Regions from separate parts of the Homo sapiens genome. Here all the other regions are linked to region 3. Evidence: promoter capture Hi-C in 16 types of primary human blood cells and fetal thymus (Javierre and others, 2016). All regions are on one chromosome and are shown on one strand. Each heading gives the region's core, a stretch centred on a gene start or on the middle of the fragment in contact. The rest is flanking DNA. Distances are from core to core; before and after follow the strand shown.

The links. Contacts are between HindIII fragments. The CHiCAGO score rates a contact against its expected background, and 5 or more counts as called.
Region 1: a contact is called between a fragment that was not itself captured here and the fragment with the promoter of NSFL1C in region 3, in 2 of 17 cell types (activated CD4 T cells and total CD4 T cells). The highest score is 7.5, in activated CD4 T cells.
Region 2: a fragment that was not itself captured here is called in contact with the fragment with the promoter of NSFL1C in region 3 in 1 of 17 cell types (total CD4 T cells); the score reaches 5.2 in total CD4 T cells.

The regions. Positions count from the first base shown.
Region 1 is chr20:1,778,077-1,780,810 of GRCh38, forward strand. It overlaps the pseudogene LOC100289473. Among named protein-coding and RNA genes, the nearest start is that of SIRPA, 120 kb to the right of the region's middle. The HindIII fragment of the contact is 6,303 bases long and covers 1-2,734 here.
Region 2 is chr20:1,742,184-1,745,339 of GRCh38, forward strand. LOC124904858 (a long non-coding RNA gene) reads right to left here and starts at 143. Exons shown (of 3, transcript XR_007067498.1): 1 at 1-143. The HindIII fragment of the contact is 2,674 bases long and covers 474-3,147 here.
Region 3 is chr20:1,465,337-1,468,511 of GRCh38, forward strand. NSFL1C (NSFL1 cofactor) reads right to left here and starts at 1,513. Exons shown (of 9, transcript NM_016143.5): 1 at 1,384-1,513. The coding sequence starts at 1,488. RefSeq lists an enhancer at 742-1,243 and a silencer at 1,538-1,807. The HindIII fragment of the contact is 14,006 bases long and covers 784-3,175 here.

The DNA of each region.
Region 1 (2,734 bases), core at 45-2,544, 310 kb after region 3:
AAGGGCCTGCCCTGACCCTACGTAAGGCCGTGCATGGACCCTCTTTTCCAGCTGAATTCAGAATTCTGGCCTCTGTTTAAAGTTGCCATCCAGAAACTTTCAACTGTGCCAGTCTTGATTAATAGCCTTTCTAGAAGGCACTTTGGTGCTCAGCAGTCCTTAACCTCTGCCATTTCTTGCAGTCAAGTGTTAAGGTGGAGAACTTTCAACATCAAGAATGCATGGAATTAGGGAAGGGGAGTCCCACCCTTTCTTCTTGGGGAGGGTGTGGAGGAAGGCGTGAGAAGTGGAGTCTGGGGGCGAATGTGTGAGAGTTGTATCACCAGCTGCGGGTATCCTTCCTTCCTTCACCATCATCCAATGCCGCCCTGAGTCTCTGACCCTCCCCAGCCGTGCTGCCCACAGGGGATGTCCAGAGGGGCTGGGCCAGAGGCTGTACCCACCTTTCCCCTGCCTGCGCACCTGGGCTTGCAGGGTGACGTTGGCCTTGAGTGGGGGCTGCTCATCGTGGACCACCCAGCAAGCAAACTCACGCTCCTCCAGCGTGGCCTCTGCCTGCCACGTGTGCTCCAGAGAGTATGTCCCATCTGGATTTCTGGTGGCCTGAGGGGACGAGGGGACACCAGGGTCTGGATCATGCTCCTGTTCTCCATCCAGGTGAGTCGCAGGTGGGCGGGATAGAAGTGGAGGACGTGGCAGGTGAGATTCACTCTGTCTTGCACATGTACATGGGTCCCAGAGGTTTCAGTGGTGATCTTCAGGGTGGGGACAACTAGACAGAGGAATAGGAAGTAAGACCTGGTGAAATCAGCCCCTGCCTGTGGCCACCCATGCTTCCCTCTCCCAGGGAACAGCCTCAAGGTCTCTCGCCTTTTTTTAAAGAAATATTTTTTTCTTGTATGCGTAATGTAAAGCAAATAGGGCTAAATGTTAATATTCATTAAATATGGGTAAGGGTACCTGGGTGTCTGCTATATTCTGTATTTTTGAAATATTTCATATCAGAAAATATAATTTTAAGAATTAGTAAAAGGTGATGCCCATGACGACAGGGACTTTATTTTGCTCGTTGCTGCATCCCCAGCACTGAGCACAGGGTCTGGCATACAGTGGATATTCATTATTATTAAATGAATAATAAACATTTAAAAAAAAAACTGTAACAATGACATTAATAGAACAAAGATGTTTAGAAAGGGAGTCTGGGACCAGATAATAACAAGATCAAACATTCGTAAGTAAGTCACTGCATGCCAGGCACTGTTATGTGTGTTTTATAAGGAATAATTCATTTAATCTTCACAGGACAGCTATGAAGTAGGTCCTCATTTTTTTCCTGTTATATAAAGAAACTGGTATTAAATAGTCAAGTAACTCACAAGATCCCACAAGTTGTAAAGTGGCACAGCTAGGATTAAAACCCAGACAGCGAGCCCCTGGAACCTGCGCTTATAACCACAATACACATGATCAGAAATCCATGAGGAATTTCATTTCCCCATTTATGAAATGAGGCTTTGGGCAAAAACCCTGAAAGCTGGATGCTTCCAGGGTTAATGTCCACCCCACCTGACTGCCCATTCACCTCAGAGCACTTGGGAGAGATTCATGGTTGTTTTCAGGGGCTCTGCCAGGGCCCTGTGGGTGACTTCGCAGGTGATCTCAGATGAGACATCCTGTCGGGTCAGTGTCACCCATGCCTTGCTGGTGATGAAGTCATTGCCTCCATTGTCAGGCACCAGGCGCTGAGCTGAGGCTGGATGTTCATCACTGTCCTTCAACCACGTAACATTGAAGTCCCGGGAGAAGTCCTGGGAGTTGAAGGGGACAGCAGTACAGTTGAAAGGCACTGAGTCTCCAGGGCTTGTCCTGTGAGATGGACCAGTCAGAGAGATGAAGGGCTGTCCAGCTAAGGAAAGAGCAATTGTGATTGTACACTGAGAGTGGGACACACCCCACAGGCACCAGTGGCACCAGAGCTGTGTCAGGCCCTGGGGGCCTACTATATGCTGTGTCTGATTCTGTCTTCAGGCAGCATATCGGCATTTGATCATAAGAAAACAAGCAAATGCAAATGTGATTATGACTGATCCCAGTGCCATCAAGGAAACCCAAAGACTGCATAGATGGAGAATACAGGGAGGACTTATTCTAGAAGGGCAGCTGGGGAAGAATTACTTGAGGAGGTGACATCATTGAGCTGAAACTCAGGAATGAATAGGAGCCAGCAATGGGAAGGGACAGAGGAAGGACATTCCAGACAGCGGGGACAGCAGGAGAGAAGGACCTCAGGCAGGAAGGGCTTGGTGGGCTTGAGAAACTGAGAAGTCTGTAGGGGACCCTAGTGTCATGGCAAAGAGGTCCAGAGTGAGAAGAGCCTGGGGACCATGGTGATGATCTTGATTCTATTCTGAGAGTGATGGGAAACCAGCAGAGACTTTAACAGAGGGGCAAAGTGGTCTGATGTACATTTTTTAGAGGATAACTGGGGTTGTTGTGTGGAGAATGGGAAGGAGCGTGGCAGGAATGGAAGCAGGGAGACCAGTGGGGAAGCTGGTACAGACCTCCAGGCCAAGGTGATGGTAGCCTGGACTAGGGTGGTGAGAAAAGGAGGCTCGAGACACATTTGGAAGATACAGCCCACAGGACTCAGTGATGGGCGGGATGGGGGGTGAGGGACAGAATGAATTCTGGATCAACAATTCCCAGGTTTTCTCTAGAGCAGCTGTGTGGG
Region 2 (3,156 bases), core at 561-3,060, 280 kb after region 3:
ATGGTAGCAACCTATAAATGTATACATTTGAAAAAAAAAGTTTAGGTCCAAGGTAATGACTAATCTCTGAGTCTGTGCCTATAAAGAGAAACAATGATTCCTCGACACATACACTCTCCCAAGACTAAACCAGGAAGAAGTTGAATCTCTGAATAGACCAATAACAGGAGCTGAAATTGTGGCAATAATCAATAGTTTACCAACCAAAAAGAGTCCAGGACCAGATGGATTCACAGCCGAATTCTACCAGAGGTACAAGGAGGAACTGGTACCATTCCTTCTAAAACTATTCCAATCAATAGAAAAAGAGGGAATCCTCCCTAACTCATTTTATGAGGCCAGCATCATTCTGATACCAAAGCCGGGCAGAGACACAACCAAAAAAGAGAATTTTAGACCAATATCCTTGATGAACATTGATGCAAAAATCCTCAATAAAATACTGGCAAACCAAATCCAGCAGCACATCAAAAAGCTTATCCACCATGATCAAGTGGGCTTCATCCCTGGGATGCAAGGCTGGTTCAATATACGCAAATCAATAAATGTAATCCAGCATATAAACAGAGCCAAAGACAAAAACCACATGATTATCTCAATAGATGCAGAAAAAGCCTTTGACAAAATTCAACAACCCTTCATGCTAAAAACTCTCAATAAATTAGGTATTGATGGGACGTATTTCAAAATAATAAGAGCTATCTATGACAAACCCACAGCCAATATCATACTGAATGGGCAAAAACTGGAAGCATTCCCTTTGAAAACTGGCACAAGACAGGGATGCCCTCTCTCACCGCTCCTATTCAACATAGTGTTGGAAGTTCTGGCCAGGGCAATCAGGCAGGAGAAGGAAATAAAGGGTATTCAATTAGGAAAAGAGGAAGTCAAATTGTCCCTGTTTGCAGACGACATGATTGTTTATCTAGAAAACCCCGTTGTCTCAGCCCAAAATCTCCTTAAGCTGATAAGCAACTTCAGCAAAGTCTCAGGATACAAAATCAATGTACAAAAATCACAAGCATTCTTATACACCAACAACAGACAAACAGAGAGCCAAATCATGAGTGAACTCCCATTCACAATTGCTTCAAAGAGAATAAAATACCTAGGAATCCAACTTACAAGGGATGTGAAGGACCTCTTCAAGGAGGACTACAAACCACTGCTCAAGGAAATAAAAGAGGATACAAACAAATGGAAGAACATTCCATGCTCATGGGTAGGAAGAATCAATATCGTGAAAATGGCCATATTGCCCAAGGTAATTTACAGATTCAATGCCATCCCCATCAAGCTACCAATGACTTTCTTCACAGAATTGGAAAAAACTACTTTAAAGTTCATATGGAACCAAAAAAGAGCCCGCATCGCCAAGTCAATCCTAAGCCAAAAGAACAAAGCTGGAGGCATCACACTACCTGACTTCAAACTATACTACAAGGCTACAGTAACCAAAACAGCATGGTACTGGTACCAAAACAGAGATATAGATCAATGGAACACAACAGAGCCCTCAGAAATAACGCCACATACCTACAACTATCCGATCTTTGACAAACCTGAGAAAAACAAGCAATGGGGAAAGGATTCCCTATTTAATAAATGGTGCTGTGAAAACTGGCTAGCCATATGTAGAAAGCTGAAACTGGATCCCTTCCTTGCACCTTATACAAAAATCAATTCAAGATGGATTAAAGATTTAAACGTTAGACCTAAAACCATAAAAACCCTAGAAGAAAACCTAGACATTACCATTCAGGACATAGGCGTGGGCAAGGACTTCATGTCCAAAACACCAAAAGCAATGGCAACAAAAGCCAAAATTGACAAATGGGATCTAATTAAACTAAAGAGCTTCAGCACAGCAAAAGAAACTACCATCAGAGTGAACAGGCAACCTACAACATGGGGGAAAATTTTCGCAACCTACTCATCTGACAAAGGGCTAATATCCAGAATCTACAATGAACTCAAACAAATTTACAAGAAAAAAACAAACAACCCCATCAAAAAGTGGGCGAAGGACATGAACAGACACTTCTCAAAAGAAGACATTTATGCAGCCAAAAAATACATGAAAAAATGCTCATCATCACTGGCCATCAGAGAAATGCAAATCAAAACCACTATGAGATATCATCTCACACCAGTTAGAATGGCAATCATTAAAAAGTCAGGAAACAACAGGTGCTGGAGAGGATGTGGAGAAATAGGAACACTTTTACACTGTTGGTGGGACTGTAAACTAGTTCAACCCTTGTGGAAGTCAGTGTGGCGATTCCTCAGGGATCTAGAACTAGAAATACCATTTGACCCAGCCATCCCATTACTGGGTATATACCCAAAGGACTATAAATCATGCTGCTATAAAGACACATGCACACGTATGTTTATTGCGGCATTATTCACAATAGCAAAGACTTGGAACCAACCCAAATGTCCAACAATGATAGACTGGATTAAGAAAATGTGGCACATATACACCATGGAATACTATGCAGCCATAAAAAATGATGAGTTCATGTCCTTTGTAGGGACATGGATGAAATTGGAAACCATCATTCTCAGTAAACTATCGCAAGAACAAAAAACCAAACACCGCATATTCTCACTCATAGGTGGGAATTGAACAGTGAGATCACATGGACACAGGAAGGGGAATATCACACTCTGGGGACTGTGGTGGGGTCGGGGGAGGGGGGAGGGATAGCATTGGGAGATATACCTAATGCTAGATGACGAGTTAGTGGGTGCAGCGCACCAGCATGGCACATGTATACATATGTAACTAACCTGCACAATGTGCACATGTACCCTAAAACTTAAAGTATAATAAAAAAATAAAAAATAAAAATAAATTAAAAAAAAAGAGAAACAATGATTATGACAAAAGAAGATGTTAGAGAAGGAAAATGGAAAAACTTGAGTAGAAATGTACACACAAGTGCTCCCCATTCTGGTCTCATGCTTCTAAACAGCCTTTTCCCTGAAAGCCTTCCAAACTAGTTCTGCTTGGGCAAGATGTATGTCTAAATTCTTTTGCTTTTATCAGTTGTCAAGAACATAATGTTGAGTTCAAAGGATAACCAAACCTTGAATCTGATTAGCTTTTATTCCATTCTCACTTGCAAAAATCATGAACTAAGCTTTATT
Region 3 (3,175 bases), core at 263-2,762:
AGTGAACTGGCATTCTCAGGGAGCCTACATTCAAGTCCTGTTCCTGCCAGGCAAGTCACATGCATGATCCTCAGTTTCCCCACTACAATGTGAGGGGAACGAGACAGAAGATCTGTTGGTCACAACACTGTGTGCTTTTAGGTCTTTCAGGTAGAAACTTTTTATTTCTGCCCAGCATAGGGGCTTCCCATTGTGTCTAGGTGTGATCTAGGTGTGATGCTTTACCGAATTCTTATGTTTGGGGAGTAATTTACGTTTGGCAGCAGACTCAGTTCAAATTCCAACCCCGCTACTTACTGGCTATGTGACCCTGAGCAAATTCTTTGCCCTCTGTGCTTCCAATTCCTCATCCATAAAATGGGTCTAGTCTTTACCTCATAGTGTTGCTAGGATCCAACGAATCATATTATGTAAAGTGCTTGGCACATGGTGGTTTAAAGCTTGGGCTCTGTCTGCTTGCAATCAGACAGAACTGGGTTCCACTTCTACCTCTTCTGCCTGGTAGCTAGTGAGGCCTTGAGCAAGTTACTTAACCTCTTTAATCTCAGCTGCAAAATGCGAAGGTTAAATGACAAAAGACATGTAAAGCAGTCAGAACAGCGCTTGGCTCATGGTAGGTACTCAATAAATATTAGTCATCACCGTCATCATCTACCTAAGACGAAGCTGGCCAAGAATATTTATGCAATTCTTTCTACAGTTAATTACCGAATGCTTATTATGTGCCAGGCATTGTTCCAGGCACTGGGAATTCATCAGTGTACAAAAATCCCTGCCTCGTGAAGCTTAAGTCTTCTTAGCAAGTATTTAGTGAATACTCAGTACGTGCCAATGAACTACACAGCAATTTCCACGAGACTCCCATTTTACAGATAAGTTAACTACGCAAGGTGAAGAAGCTCCAACCTTGCGCCACCACCCCAGAGGTATTCTCCCAGCAATTAGGAAGGCTGGGCGGCGGTCAACTCCCGGGCTGGACTTCGGAAGTGGAAATGAGCGGCCACCTAGTCCCGAGTGGGGCTTCACCCAAGAGCTGCTCACTCGGACCAGCCCGGCCTCCAGCAGATACTCGGCGCGGCAGCCACGCCCCCAGGCGCTCCCTCTCCTCGCCGGCTGCCGCAGCGCCCGAAGTCTCGCTGACGCCGCAAGCGGGCGAGGCAGGGTGAAACTGGCACGGCAGAACTGGCTGGGGCTGGCCCGCGTTCCCCCACTCCCAAGCCGAGCAGGCGACGCGTGACAAGCGGTCCCGGGACCATGAGGCCTGGGTCGGGCCGCGGTAGAGCGGGGATGACTGTGCGCTTCGGCCGCCGCGGGCTTAAGGCACCAGGCGCCCGCTCCCAGCAGTCCCCGGCCCACCCGACACAGCCCGCCGCGCGGCGCTACCTGCAAGTCCCAGCCGGCCGACTCGAGAAAGAAGCGGGCCCGGTCCTCCTCGGCGCCCGTCACCGCCACGAACTCCCTCAGCGCCTCCTGTCGCTCCGCCGCCATCTTCGCCCCGTGCGCCTTCCAAAGCGCTCCGGCGGCCGCCGCACAGGCCCAGCCCCGCTGCCGCGTTCCGCTTGCCGGTCGACGAGGCCCAGCCGATGAGGGCCCAGCAGCTGGGAGCCCGCCCGCAGCCCCGCCCCACGCGGTGCCTCACGCAAAGCCCTCCGTGCGGGAAGCCCCGCCGCTCCGCGCCCTCTGGCGACCGCGGCGCGAACCGCAGCCTAACGGCGGGGGTGGGAGCCCGAAGGATGAGAGGCGGGGCGGGTCTTACATACACCTGTGGGCTGAAGGCTCCCTGCAGGAGTCAGATTCCCAGTTATTCATTGACGCAGCCCTCATTTCATTAATTGTGCATTCGTTCATTCACTTACTTGTCAAGCATTTACTGAGAGCTATCAATGGCCCGACGTTTTTCTAGGGCTGTGGATATGGCAGGGAGCAAAACAAAGTCCCTGCTCCCATGCTTCTTACATTCTAGGGGTAAAAATTCAGACCTTGAACAGGCTAGGCCTCCGCTCACAACACGTCCATGCCTCGTTATCTCGCCCCGCATAAAAGACAGTCTCATGGCCTGCCTGCAGGACCCATGAGAGATGGGCCAGTTCCTCCCTCTCATCAAGGGATCCGCTAGCTTCCTCTGCTCCAGGCGCCTTGCCCTCCTTGCTGTTCCTGGAACTTGCCAGTTATCTTGCATTTGCCTCAGGGCCGTTGCATTAGCTGCTTCTGTGCCTGGAGCACCTTTCCCTTACCGATGGGCAAGGCGCTCTCCCCGCTTTCTTTGGGCCTCTGCTCCAAGGCCACTTTCTTAGGCACAATCCTGTCTTCTGGGTCCTCAGCTTCTTTGCCCTCTTGCCTCTCCAAAGAGGAACTTACTTGTTCAGCTTACTTGTTCTTTGTTCTCTATTTTCAAAGCCTAACTTCCTTGTTCTTTGTACCTCCTTACCCCTAGTTACGGTAAACAACCTTCCCGCGGGTCCTAATCTATAACTCACATCTGTTCCCTTGGATACCCTCGCTACAATTGCCATTCCCGCGGAAACTCTTCTTCCTGCCGAAACCGCTTGCCCTACCACTGTAGCCCACATTTCTGCTCCATTTGAACTAGCCAATCGGGATTAGCTTAGATTGCGCAGTCCAGCCCCAGCCAATGGGAACAGGACACAGAAGCAGCGACTAACCGCATTAGGGATAAAAACCCCTTCTCTCTTTTGTTCGGTGTGCTTTCCTGAAGACCAGATGTGTGAGTGGCACCCTTCTGCAGAAGTAAATTGGCTTTGCTGAAAAATCTTTTATTTCAGTGCTGGTTTTCCTTGAGACTTCGAGCTTTAATTTCCAACACCACCGTGGGACACTCTTCCCTTCCTCTTCCTCTGTCGGCCCCTGCTCATTCTTCAGCTCTCAGTTCAGGTGTCCCTTTCTCAAGGAGACCTTGAGAAGGTGCCCAGGCTTAGTCAAAACCCCTCTTAATCAGGTTATGAACAGCACAAAGTCCAGTCTTCCCTCAATTGACACAATAGTTGCTTTCCTGGAAAATTCGGTGTCTTATTAACACTGTGCAAGAAATCCTTTAAGTTTATATGACAAACGAGTTAGGGCTTGGGTTAGGTTATTAGGAGCATGGTTGCAGCCACAATAGGCCCTGGCAGGAGGCATGGGAGGAGGGTCCTTTCTTTGTGGTGTGAGACTCTCC